Linked DNA regions of Homo sapiens: all the other regions are linked to region 1. The links are contacts of gene promoters, found by promoter capture Hi-C in blood cells and fetal thymus (Javierre and others, 2016). All regions are on one chromosome and are shown on one strand. Each heading gives the region's core, a stretch centred on a gene start or on the middle of the fragment in contact. The rest is flanking DNA. Distances are from core to core; before and after follow the strand shown.

Region 1 (2,700 bases), core at 116-2,615:
GAAGGGTGGAAGTCCAGCCAGGACTGGAGTCGGGTCTCAGAACTCCCCAGCCATGCTCTTTCCTGTTGTCCCTCCGTGGACTGCTCTATCTGTGCCAGATGGTCAGTCCCTAGGCACCAGCAGAAAACTGTGTGGCCCACACACATTGCACACCCTGCGTAAAATTCTAGATTGTCCCCTAATGCCCTCTAGGTGTCCACCAAGGTTTGCCATGGAGAAGATCATCTAGCCCTTCCCACTTTCCACCTGGGTTCTTGAGAAGTTTTTTCTTTGAAAGTCTCAGCTCCTGAGCCTGGCGTGGATGGCCTTCATAATCTTGTCTTTTGTGTTTCCAACCTCATATCCAACTCGCCACCTCCAAGACATCCTGCACACTGACAGCTCCCTCTGCATGAATCCACCATTCTTTCTAAGCCTCCATCTCTCTGCCCAGGTCCCCCAACACACACACACACACACACACACACACACACACACACACACCCAACTCTCTAGAGTGTTCTCCTCTCAGCTCTGCTCCAGAGACTGACCTTCCTTCTACAAGGCACATCAAGTGCACAGCTTCGTGAGTCTTTCTCTAGTCACCAGAGAGAACTGCTTCATCCTCCGCACACGCCTCCACCAATGCCTTATTGTGTCCTGCAATTGCTCATTGTTTATGTGTATGTCTCACCCACTAAGCCATCTGGAGTCTTTTTACTTTATTTTTTTTTTGAGACAAGGTCCCACTGTATCACCCAGGCTGGAGTGCTGTGGTGCGATCATAACTCTGCAGAATTGAATACCTGAGCTCAAAGGATCCTCCAGCTTCAGCCTCCCAAGTAGCTGGGACTACAGGCACGGTCACCACGCCCAGCTAATTTTTGTTCATTTTATATAGAGACGAGGTCTCACCATGTTGCCCAAACTGGTCTTAAACGCCTGGACTCAAGCAATCCTCCCACCTTGGCCTCCCAAAGTGTTAGGATTATAGGTGTGAGCCATGGCCTCAAGCCTGGAGTCTTCTTTAATGGCCAGTTCTCCTCCTCTTTTTTCTTGATGTCCTCAGGCCCCGAAGCACACGATGTCAGTCCCCAGTGCACCTTTGTCGAATGACTTCACAAAGCCACCTCTCATTTCCCTGGATGTGGAAGGACAAATGCCCTCTGCCTCCTGCCCTGCCCCTGTCATACCAAGCGCCCAAGGCCCCAGCCCCACTCACCTGAGAGGCTGAGAAGGAGCAGAGCAGGGGGCAGCCACATGGCTCTGCCTTCCCGGCTCCTCGTCCGCCTGATCTGCAACCAGTGGCAAATGCAGATCCCAGATGCACTCTGGAAGTTCTGCCTGAGCTCTGGCTTGCACCTTCTGCACATCTAGACCGCCTTTGACTTTCTTACTCATTCACTTCCTTTTATAGAGTGGGTAGTTCCTGCTTTTAATTATTAAACGAAAGAGGTGTCATTTTTTGGCAGGGCTGCGCCACAGGGCTTAAGCATCGTCACTATGTAAAAAAGAGGAGGGAGGGGACTGTGCAGGGTCTTTAGGGTAGGGGGAGATACGTCTGCAGAAGGGGTGGGGTGGGGGGCGTCTGGCCTAGCAGGCCTTGGGTCCAAGGGGTATAACACTCTGGGAGTCAATTTCAGAGCTGTTCTATACCACAGTGAACACCCAACTCAGATGTCGGATGGGTCATGCTGGGCACACCTGAACATGCATTTGTTCAGGTGTTATAGCCAAGTGCATAAACATGCAGACTGTTGGGTCAGACAGACCTGGCTCTAACCCCACGAGCACCACCTACAAGCTGCGTGACTGTGGACAATGCAATCAACATCTCTGTGCCTCAGTTATTGTATCTATTAACTGGGCTCATAATGTTTGTTGTTGTTATAGGAGTTATTAAGAAATTATTTTAGGTAGATAGGAAAAGGGGTGCTTGGGAAGATTTTTTTTTCTTTTAAAGCAGCTCCATAAATGTTTCTTGTCTAGAAGAAAAGCCCTGGCTCTTAGAGCTGGGCAGGCAAGCTTTGATATGCAAATACAGGCCATTAGAAACTGCGTCCACCCAAACATGGAGACTCCCGCCTCTTCTTCTTTTCCCCACGTTCCTGGCAACATGGCCGCCCCTACATACACCCATGTGTGTAGAACATCATGGCGCCTGTATTTGCATATTAAAAGGCTAGGGTAGGAAGGCTAGTTTTTTCGTGGGCTACTTGAATGACATACCTGGTCAAACCAATCCCCTGGGCCCTATGCAAATCAGGTACCGCCTCCTCCAGCCTCCTCATATAACTGGCTGTTTTCCACCGTACTCGAGGTTCCCTCTTTCAGCTTGGAGCCCGCCTCCCTCAGTCTCAGAACAGGGGGAGCCTCTTCCTTCCTTCTTTCTTGTCTATTAAATTCTCCACTCCTTAAAACCACTCCACGTGTGCCCATGTTGTTTTATTCAAACCAGTGGGAGACCAAGGACCCTAGTGTTCCTCCAGTCATCAGAGCCATACCATTTTGTTGCATTGGCCGGGAATCCAAGGTACGACACTCATCGGAGTGGTAAGTATGGGAGTGAGCTTAAAATCTCTTCTATCATTCCGAGGCACTCTTAGCCTCTATTTTAAAATAAAATAAGTCAATGGGCATCCGTCAGCCGGGTACATACACTTAGTGTTGGCTGCCATACTGAAGACTCGAATGTGAGGCTTGCTGCTGAGAACACGGAGA
Region 2 (2,700 bases), core at 16-2,515, 250 kb after region 1:
AGTTTAGAATGCATGCATTGGTCTTCATTATCAAGACTGCAGTAGAGCCTATTCCTCAGCTTTCTGCCACTGCTTCCCAGGAGTCTGGCCCACAGAACTGTCCCACGACCAGCAGAAGAGAACGTCTCCTTTCTCTTCCTTCCCCACAACCCCTCCTGACCCAACCTGTGGCTCAGCCCAGATTTGCTTCCTGCCTCTATGTCTGTTCATTGTGATTGGCCATCACTGATTACCTTTACAGAAGGTGAAGAGGACTGAATGCTCGCCAGGAGTGCCACAGTCCTGAGAAGGCAGAGAAGTCCTACGTTACCCTGCAGGATTCCCTGAGCCCCCACTAAACACACAGGGCTTGCTTTGGAACTGAAAAAATTGCAACAAAGCAAGACAACTGCAATTACCCATTTCTGCTCCCAACTGCCAATAGTTTCTCTCTTCATTCATTTCTTTGTAAAGTTCTTAAAGGTTCCTAAGTTTCTTTTGGGAGCATGCTTATTTCATTATACCTCTCTCTACAGCAGTGGTTGTCAACTAGCGGTGATCCTGCCCCCCAGAGGACAGTAGGCAGTGTCTAGAGACATTTTTGATTGTCAGGACAGTACTGGTTGGAGAGAGGTTGTTACCGGCACCTAGTGGGCAAAGGCCGGGGATGCCACTAAACATCCCACAATGCACAGGACAGGTCCCCATCATGAAAAAAGACCTGGCCCCCAAATTTCCATAGTGCCCAAGCTGAGAAACCCTGATCCACAAGAGACCTTTGACTTTTACATCCCAAGACCTTCAAGCATCCCTGAATTTACAAATGCCTCTTATACTGTTTAGTTTCCCCATAAAACTTTTGCCTAAGAACCATTACTTTCTTTTTTTTTTCTTAAGACAGGGTCTCACTGTGTCACCCAGTGAGCAATTACAGCTCACTGCAGCCTTGACTTCCTGGGCTCAGGCGATTTTCCCATCTCAGTCTTCCAAGTAGCTGGGACTACAGGCACTTGCCACCGTCCCCGGCTAATATTTTTATTTTTTTGTAGAGATAGAGTCTTGCTACATTGCCTAGGCTAGTCTCAAACTGCTGGACTCAAGCCATCCTCCCACCTCAGGAGTTCTGGGATCACAGGCATGAGCCACCATACCTAGCCTAGAACTGTCACTTTCTTATGCCTCTTTGCTTTCTCTTTACTTCCATTATGGGAACATCATTCTCCATAAAGAAATAAGGTTTTTTTCCCTTCATAAGTATTACTGCCTACAGAAGCGATAAGCAGAGAACAGAGCTGCAGGGAGGGCAGATGTTAGGTTTTCCGCTGGGGTCTGTTCTGTTAGTGCCCTGCTTAAAATGCTCCAAAACATCCAACCCCCTGTGCCATCCAAAAGGGCTCTTCGCAGTCTGACTGCAGCCTCTTCCAGCCCCACCCCTGCCCGGCTTGCTGTGCTTCAGCCACACAGGCCTTCTGAAAGCTCCTCGAGCCTACCTGCCTCTTTCCCACTGTAGGCCTCTGGGCCGGGAAGTCTCTCCCTCGTCTATTGCCTGGGTAGCACCTTCTCATCCTCCAGCTCCCTTCCTGGGGTATCCACTGTTTCCAATGCTTTCCCATTGTGTCTTCTCACAGTGCCCTGATTGTTTGCTTCATAACGCCTCTCTCAAGCTGTAACCGTAGTTGTTTTCTTCCCAGGCTGGAGCGCAGTGGCATGATCTCGGCTCACTGCAACCTCTGCCTCCCGGGTTCAAGTGATTCTCATGCCTCAGCCTCCCGAGTAGCTGGGATTACAGGCGTGCACCATCATGCCCGGCTAATTTTTTGTATTTTAGTAGAGATGGAGTTTTACTATGTTGCCCAGGCTAGTCTCGAACTCCTCAGCTCAGGCAATACACCCACCTCAGCCTCTCAAAGTGCTAGGATTACAGGTATGAGCCACCACACCCGGCCTGTAGTTGTTTTCTTGTTGTCTGTTTCCTCCTCCTTAGAACGTAGCCCCGTGAGTTCAAGGGCCGTATCTGTCTGGTTTATCATTGTATCCTCAGCTCCAAGCACAGGGCCCGGTCTGTAGAAGGCTCTTGTTGGTTTTTGAATAAATGAGCAGAACTGAGCTAGCTAGATGACCCCTTCCCACCCTTGTACACATGAGCATGAAAGTACCAGCAAAAGTAAACATGAGTTAGTTATAGACATTCACAGTCACTGTGAAAAGCCAGAACTTCCCATTCAGAAGACCAGCAATGGGCTGTGTGTCCCCTGTCTCACCCAACTGCTGCCCTCAAAATTATTCTAGCAGCACCACTCTGAGCCAGGACTCCCAAAGGGGAATCATATCACGATGATGATGTGATCCAACCAAAGCATAGGAAGATGATTCAAACTTGTTTTCATCATTCTGGGATTTGTCTGTGGGATCAAATTGAGATTGAGGGCTGGGCGTGTTGGCTCACTCCTGTAATCCCAGCACTTTGAAAGGTCGAGGAGGGTGGATCATCTGAGGTCAGGGGTTCGAGACCCAGCCTGACCAACATGGTGAAACGCTGTCTCTACTAAAACTACAAAATTAAGCCAGGCATGATGGTGGGTGCCTGTAATCCCAGCTACTCCAGAGGCTGAGGCAGGAGAATCACTTGAATCCAGGAGGCAAGGTTGCAGTGAGCCAAGAGCACGCCACTGCACTCCAACTTGGGCAACAGAGCGAGACTCCGTCTCAAAAAATAAAAAT
Region 3 (2,700 bases), core at 55-2,554, 220 kb after region 1:
TTTTGGAAAGCACATCCTGTCCACTGTTTCTTTGAAGTGAGTGGGGGGGGGGGGTCTTGTTGAAGGAATTGTCATTCACTGCCAAAATCATTCCATCCTCCTTCCTCAGTGTCTGTCCTCAGATGGTCAGCTCCCCGCTCAACAGACTGTCTCCCGCCTCTGTGACCAGCCTCTCTTTGGCAAGAGGGAGCTAGAAGGCTTTACAGTCCTAATCATTTTTCTGTTGGAAAAAAAAAAAAAAAACCAAGGCTCCTTTCCCTGTGGCGTGTACCCAGAGGTTGATTACCTGAGTCTGTCCTGCCTCTCCCCACCCCACCTCCCTAGCCAAACGCTGCTGCCAAAGCCCACGCTATTGCCCTAGATGGCCTGTCTTCAGCGGGCTGCCCCTCGAGGTCCCAGGCTCTCCGCGGAGCCCTCACCTTCCCAGCAGGGATCAGAACCTGCACTCCTCTATGCGAGTCCTGGGACAGCACAAAGTGGATTAGGGTTAGGGTTCCCACAAACGGAAAAATGTTATTCAAACAACTCTGTAGGGTCCGAGGAGGCCCTCCGTCTTAATTCTCGAGACTGACCGGCCCTCGCTGCCCCGAGCGGGAGCAGTTGCCCCGGCAACAGCCGCTCCCTCTCAACTGGAGCTGCACCCAGGCTTTGGCTAAAGGCTGTTAAAACGTTGGCCAGGTGCGGTGGCTCACGTCTGTAATCCCAGGGCGGATCACCTGAGGTCAGGAGTTTGAAACCATCCTGGCCAACATGGCGAAATTTCGTCTCTACTAAAAATACAAAAATTAGCGGGGCGTGGTGGTGCGCGCCTGTAACCCCAGCTGCTCGGGAGGCTGAGGCAGGGGAATCGCTTGAACCCGGGAGGCGGAGGTTGCAGTGATCCGAGATCGCGCCACGGCAGTCCAGCCTGGGCGACAGAGCGAGACTCCGTCTCAAAAAAAAAAAAAAAAGTTAGGGTCCTTTACCCGAGGGCCGGCTTTCCTCACTCCCCGCCACAGGTAGGGGAAACCAGGCCGGAGCCGGCGGGCCCACCCGCCCAGAACCGGGAATTCGGCGAGCCCCGCCCCTGCCACCCCAGCGCCGGCCGCTCGGTAACAAACACTTCCACTTCCTGAGCGCTAGTCTTCGCCCGCCGCGGGGCGCCGCGCCGAGCGCAGGCCCCGCCCCGCGCGTTCCCAATGGCCGGCGCCGTTCACCCGGCCGGAGCGCCCAGGCCTGCAGCCCCCTATTGGCCCGCGGAGGTCCCCACCCTCAGCGCGGCCCCGCCCCCGGGGTAAGGAGCCGGGGCGGACTCTGGGACGCTCAGACGCCGCGCGGGGCGGGGATTGGTCTGTGGTCCTCTCTCGGCTCCTCGCGGCTCGCGGCGGCCGACGGTTCCTGGGACACCTGCTTGCTTGGCCCGTCCGGCGGCTCAGGGCTTCTCTGCTGCGCTCCCGGTTCGCTGGACGGGAAGAAGGGCTGGGCCGTCCCGTCCCGTCCCCATCGGAACCCCAAGTCGCGCCGCTGACCCGTCGCAGGGCGAGATGAGCGCGGACGCAGCGGCCGGGGCGCCCCTGCCCCGGCTCTGCTGCCTGGAGAAGGGTCCGAACGGCTACGGCTTCCACCTGCACGGGGAGAAGGGCAAGTTGGGCCAGTACATCCGGCTGGTGGAGCCCGGCTCGCCGGCCGAGAAGGCGGGGCTGCTGGCGGGGGACCGGCTGGTGGAGGTGAACGGCGAAAACGTGGAGAAGGAGACCCACCAGCAGGTGGTGAGCCGCATCCGCGCCGCACTCAACGCCGTGCGCCTGCTGGTGGTCGACCCCGAGACGGACGAGCAGCTGCAGAAGCTCGGCGTCCAGGTCCGAGAGGAGCTGCTGCGCGCCCAGGAAGCGCCGGGGCAGGCCGAGCCGCCGGCCGCCGCCGAGGTGCAGGGGGCTGGCAACGAAAATGAGCCTCGCGAGGCCGACAAGAGCCACCCGGAGCAGGTAAGCGGGGCCCAAGCCGCGCAGGCTGGCATGGAGTGGGAGGAGGATCCGGAGAGACCCAGGTGCCCCGGCCGTCCAGCCCCGCGCCCGCCGTCGTTTTTCTGAAACTCGAGCTGCGAGGGGGAGACCGCTTCCGCCCGCCGACCAGGCGCCCTGACACATCCTAGGCAGGCCTGGGGCTGCGTCCCGCGACCTCCTCTCCTTCCCAGGCTGTGCTGGGAGCTTGAGCGCCTTTGCCGCCTGCACCTCTTGTTCCCTGGCCTTTGGGAGGGCGGCGCAGGGGAACCCAGCCCCCTTCCCTCGGGTCTGTGGGTGTCTGCTCCCGTTCCTCGGAATCCCCCAATCCTGCTCCTTCCCTGGTGCCCTCTCCTCGTTCACCCCAGTCCGCAGATGGGCCGGGGAGAAAGGGCTCTCCGCCCCAGAGGTGCCAGCTTCGCCCGCCACTCCTACTTCAAAAGCTAGAGGAATAGCATTACTCCTCCTGTGTGGAGCCCCGGCGCGAGGAGGCCCTCTCCGCAGCCCGCCGGTGTGTGTCCTGAACTTCAGTCCTGCTGGACTTCATCCTCCCGGAGTCCTGTGTGACTTCTAAGGGAGAGGAAGCCCCACCATCTCAGGGCGGTGTGGGGGTTGCCTGGCAGGGAGGAGGAGCCAAGGCATCTCGGAGTGGTGGTTCTGCCACCTCAGAGGATTTACGATTCTCAGGAATGTGAAGAGTAAGCGCCTAGAACTGTATCTG
Region 4 (2,700 bases), core at 179-2,678, 240 kb before region 1:
GCCGTCCAATCAGATGAGTGGAGATGAGCAGGAGGCTGGAATAGAGCAGCTGGGGAAATGCGGAGGGGAAGCCTGTGGACCTGGGGCAGAGGACAGACCTTGGGTCTGGGTGATGCAGGACTAGGGGTGTGAAAGGTGTTTGGGAAATGACTTGCCTCAGATCCCAGCTCTGGGGAATTCATTTCACTACCACGACTGACTTAGGGGCCTGGGAAGTACCTAGCCCAGTCCCAGCACAGCAAGAAAGAACTCTTTTCTGAGGCAGGGCTGACTCATGGTGTGCAAGCAGGGCCAGTGGCTGTCAGCAAGGGGTGTGCAGGAGAGGGCATGGCGGGGCAGAGGCTGCCCTTCCTGTTGCCCTCCAGCCCTGCTGGGCTCTAACCTCGTATATGGACCACCAGAGCAGGATGATGCATTAGAAATCATCCGAGGGGCCGGGCACTGTGGCTCACGCCTATAATCTTAGCACTTTGGGAGGCCCAGGTGGGCATATCATCTGAGGTCACGAGTTTGAGACCAGCCTAGGAAACATGGTAAAAACCTGTCTCTACTAAAAATACAAAAATTAGCCAGGCGTGGTGGTGTGCGCCTGTAATCGTAGCTACTCGGGAGGCTGAGGCAGGAGAATTGTTTGAACCCAGGAGGCAGAGGTTGCAGTGAGCCGAGATTATGCCACTGCCTGGGGGACAGAGCAAGACTCCATCTGACAAAAAAAAAAAAAAGGGGGAGAAATTGGGGAACCTCACATCCAGCCTTCTGCTCTCTTCCCTCTCCCCTGCAGGGACCCCCAGGAAATCAAGAGGGCTGCCACACACCTCTCCTGGCACCCCGATGGCAACAGGAAGTTGGCAGTGGCATACTCCTGCTTGGATTTTCAGCGGGCACCTGTGGGCATGAGCAGCGATTCATACATCTGGGACCTGGGTGAGAAGCAGCGGGGTCCTGGTGGCCTGGGAGGGCTGAGGGCTGGGACCAGCACAAGTGGAGGAGCGGGAGGGAGGGGCAGGAGGTCAAGGACACTCACGCGGTTGGTGCCTCAAGGGAAGGGCCCGCAGTCGAGGAGGAACACACTCTTCTCCTTCCTCTCTTGTCTGGTTTCAGGCAGAGCCAAGCAGAGTCAAATCAGAAGCAGGAAACCCCCACCAATTCCAGATTCTTAGTTCGAGGCATGAAGACCTGACCCCATGGGATCTCAATTCTTAGCTCCTAAGGAGCATATCAGGCCGGGCTCGGTGGCCCATGCCTGTAATCCCAGCACTTTGGGAGGCCAAGGCAGGTGGATCACCTGAAGTCAGGAGTTCAAGACCAGCCTGGCTAACATGATAAAACCCTGTCTCTACTAAAAATACAAAAATTAGTTGTGCTTGATGGTGGGTGCCTGTAATCCCAGCTACTTGGGAGACTGAAGCAGGAGAATCGCTTGAACCCAGGAGTCAGAGGTTGCAGTGAGCCGAGATCATGCCACTGCACTCCATCCTGGGCAACAGAGTGAGACTCTATCTCAACAGCAACAACAAGACAGAGTGCCCAGCAGACTGAGAAGGGACTCAAGGGGCGGCGGAATGGAACTTGTGCCTTTGTCCCATCTGTCCTGACACTTGCCTTTAATTCATGGCCTGCAGGGGCAGCGTGTCCATTTATTAGCACAAACCATTGTCTACAGAAGGGCTGGCAAGACACAGGCAGGGACAGGGTGGTGGTGGCTTCACGCTCTCCAGCTTCCCTTCGTTGTCAGCATTATTAAAATAAACATGTAGGTGCCAGGCAGAGAGCTAACGCCCGACATTCCAACAGCTCAGCGAGTTCTGGCAGCAGCCCTATGGGGTGGACTCCGTCATTATCTGCAGTCCACAGACCTGGTTGGAAGAAACCGGCAGAGAGTTGACTTTGTGTAAAAACTTTAGTATCAAAACCTCGTTTCACACCAAACCTAGGAACTGGACTAGAAATATAATTATCACACACATACGCACACCCCAATCCTGTTCACCAAAAATAAAAACCATCAGCAAAGCCCCTAGGGTCAAGAATGCCAGATTCTGGCCAAGGTGGACCAGGGGGTGCAGGCTGGGGAAAGACTGGAGGGGCTTCCAGGCTTCCCCCTCTGCCACCATGCCCCCGCTACCCACCCGCAGAAGGGGTGAAACTGGTTGATCCTGTCCTTTTCTTTCCGGGCCTGGTGGGGATAATTTTTTTGTGCTTTATAGAAAACCCCAACAAGCCTGAACTTGCTCTGAAGCCATCGTCTCCACTCGTGACGTTGGAGTTCAACCCCAAAGATTCCCACGTACTCCTGGGTGGCTGCTACAATGGACAGATAGGTAAGGAGGGACCTAGGCTTTTTTATTTTTATTTTTATTTTTTTTAGATGGAATTTTGCTCTTGTTTCCCAGGCTGGAGTGTAGTGGTGCAATTTTGGCTCACTGCAACCTCCGCCTCCTGGGTTCAAGTGATTCTCCTGCCTCAGCCTCCCGAGTCGCTGAGATTACAGGCACCCACCACCACACCTGGCTAATTTTTTTGTTATTTTTAGTAGAGACAGGGTTTCACCATGTTGGCCAGGCTGGTCTCGCACTCCTGACCTCAGGTGATTCACCCACCTGGGCCTCCCAAAGTGCTGGGATTACAGGTGTGGGCCACCACACCTGGCCGGGACCCAGATTCATAGTCAGAGCCAATCCTGCTGCTATAGGGCAGAGC

What was found. Contacts are between HindIII fragments. The CHiCAGO score rates a contact against its expected background, and 5 or more counts as called.
Region 2: a fragment that was not itself captured here is called in contact with the fragment with the promoter of CD300LB in region 1 in 1 of 17 cell types (monocytes); the score reaches 6.5 in monocytes.
Region 3: a contact is called between the fragment with the promoter of NHERF1 here and the fragment with the promoter of CD300LB in region 1, in 2 of 17 cell types (neutrophils and monocytes). The highest score is 5.9, in neutrophils.
Region 4: a contact is called between a fragment that was not itself captured here and the fragment with the promoter of CD300LB in region 1, in 1 of 17 cell types (M1 macrophages). The highest score is 5.1, in M1 macrophages.

Annotation. Positions count from the first base shown.
Region 1 is chr17:74,530,110-74,532,809 of GRCh38, forward strand. CD300LB (CD300 molecule like family member b) reads right to left here and starts at 1,366. Exons shown (of 4, transcript NM_174892.4): 1 at 1,202-1,366. The coding sequence starts at 1,241. LOC107985074 (a long non-coding RNA gene) reads left to right here. Exons shown (of 3, transcript XR_007065902.1): 2 at 2,438-2,532. The HindIII fragment of the contact is 3,995 bases long and covers 1-2,002 here.
Region 2 is chr17:74,780,443-74,783,142 of GRCh38, forward strand. The region is part of intron 2 of SLC38A12 (solute carrier family 38 member 12); the gene reads left to right. Among named protein-coding and RNA genes, the nearest start is that of SLC38A12, 5.3 kb to the left of the region's middle. RefSeq lists a silencer at 543-712. The HindIII fragment of the contact is 4,846 bases long and covers 1-2,700 here.
Region 3 is chr17:74,747,324-74,750,023 of GRCh38, forward strand. It overlaps NHERF1 (NHERF family PDZ scaffold protein 1), which reads left to right and starts at 1,305. Exons shown (of 6, transcript NM_004252.5): 1 at 1,305-1,964. The coding sequence starts at 1,524. It overlaps SLC9A3R1-AS1 (SLC9A3R1 antisense RNA 1), which reads right to left and starts at 2,544. Exons shown (of 3, transcript NR_187307.1): 1 at 1,740-2,544; 2 at 1,250-1,604; 3 at 1-220. It overlaps MIR3615 (microRNA 3615), which reads left to right and starts at 1,290; the gene lies at 1,290-1,376. It overlaps RAB37 (RAB37, member RAS oncogene family), which reads left to right. Exons shown (of 9, transcript NM_001006638.3): 9 at 1-12. RefSeq lists enhancers at 1-454, 1,743-2,368 and a silencer at 849-1,538. The HindIII fragment of the contact is 23,505 bases long and covers 1-2,700 here.
Region 4 is chr17:74,288,813-74,291,512 of GRCh38, forward strand. DNAI2 (dynein axonemal intermediate chain 2) reads left to right here. Exons shown (of 14, transcript NM_023036.6): 5 at 782-924; 6 at 2,208-2,321. Among named protein-coding and RNA genes, the nearest start is that of DNAI2, 16 kb to the left of the region's middle. RefSeq lists an enhancer at 286-786. The HindIII fragment of the contact is 3,992 bases long and covers 1-2,700 here.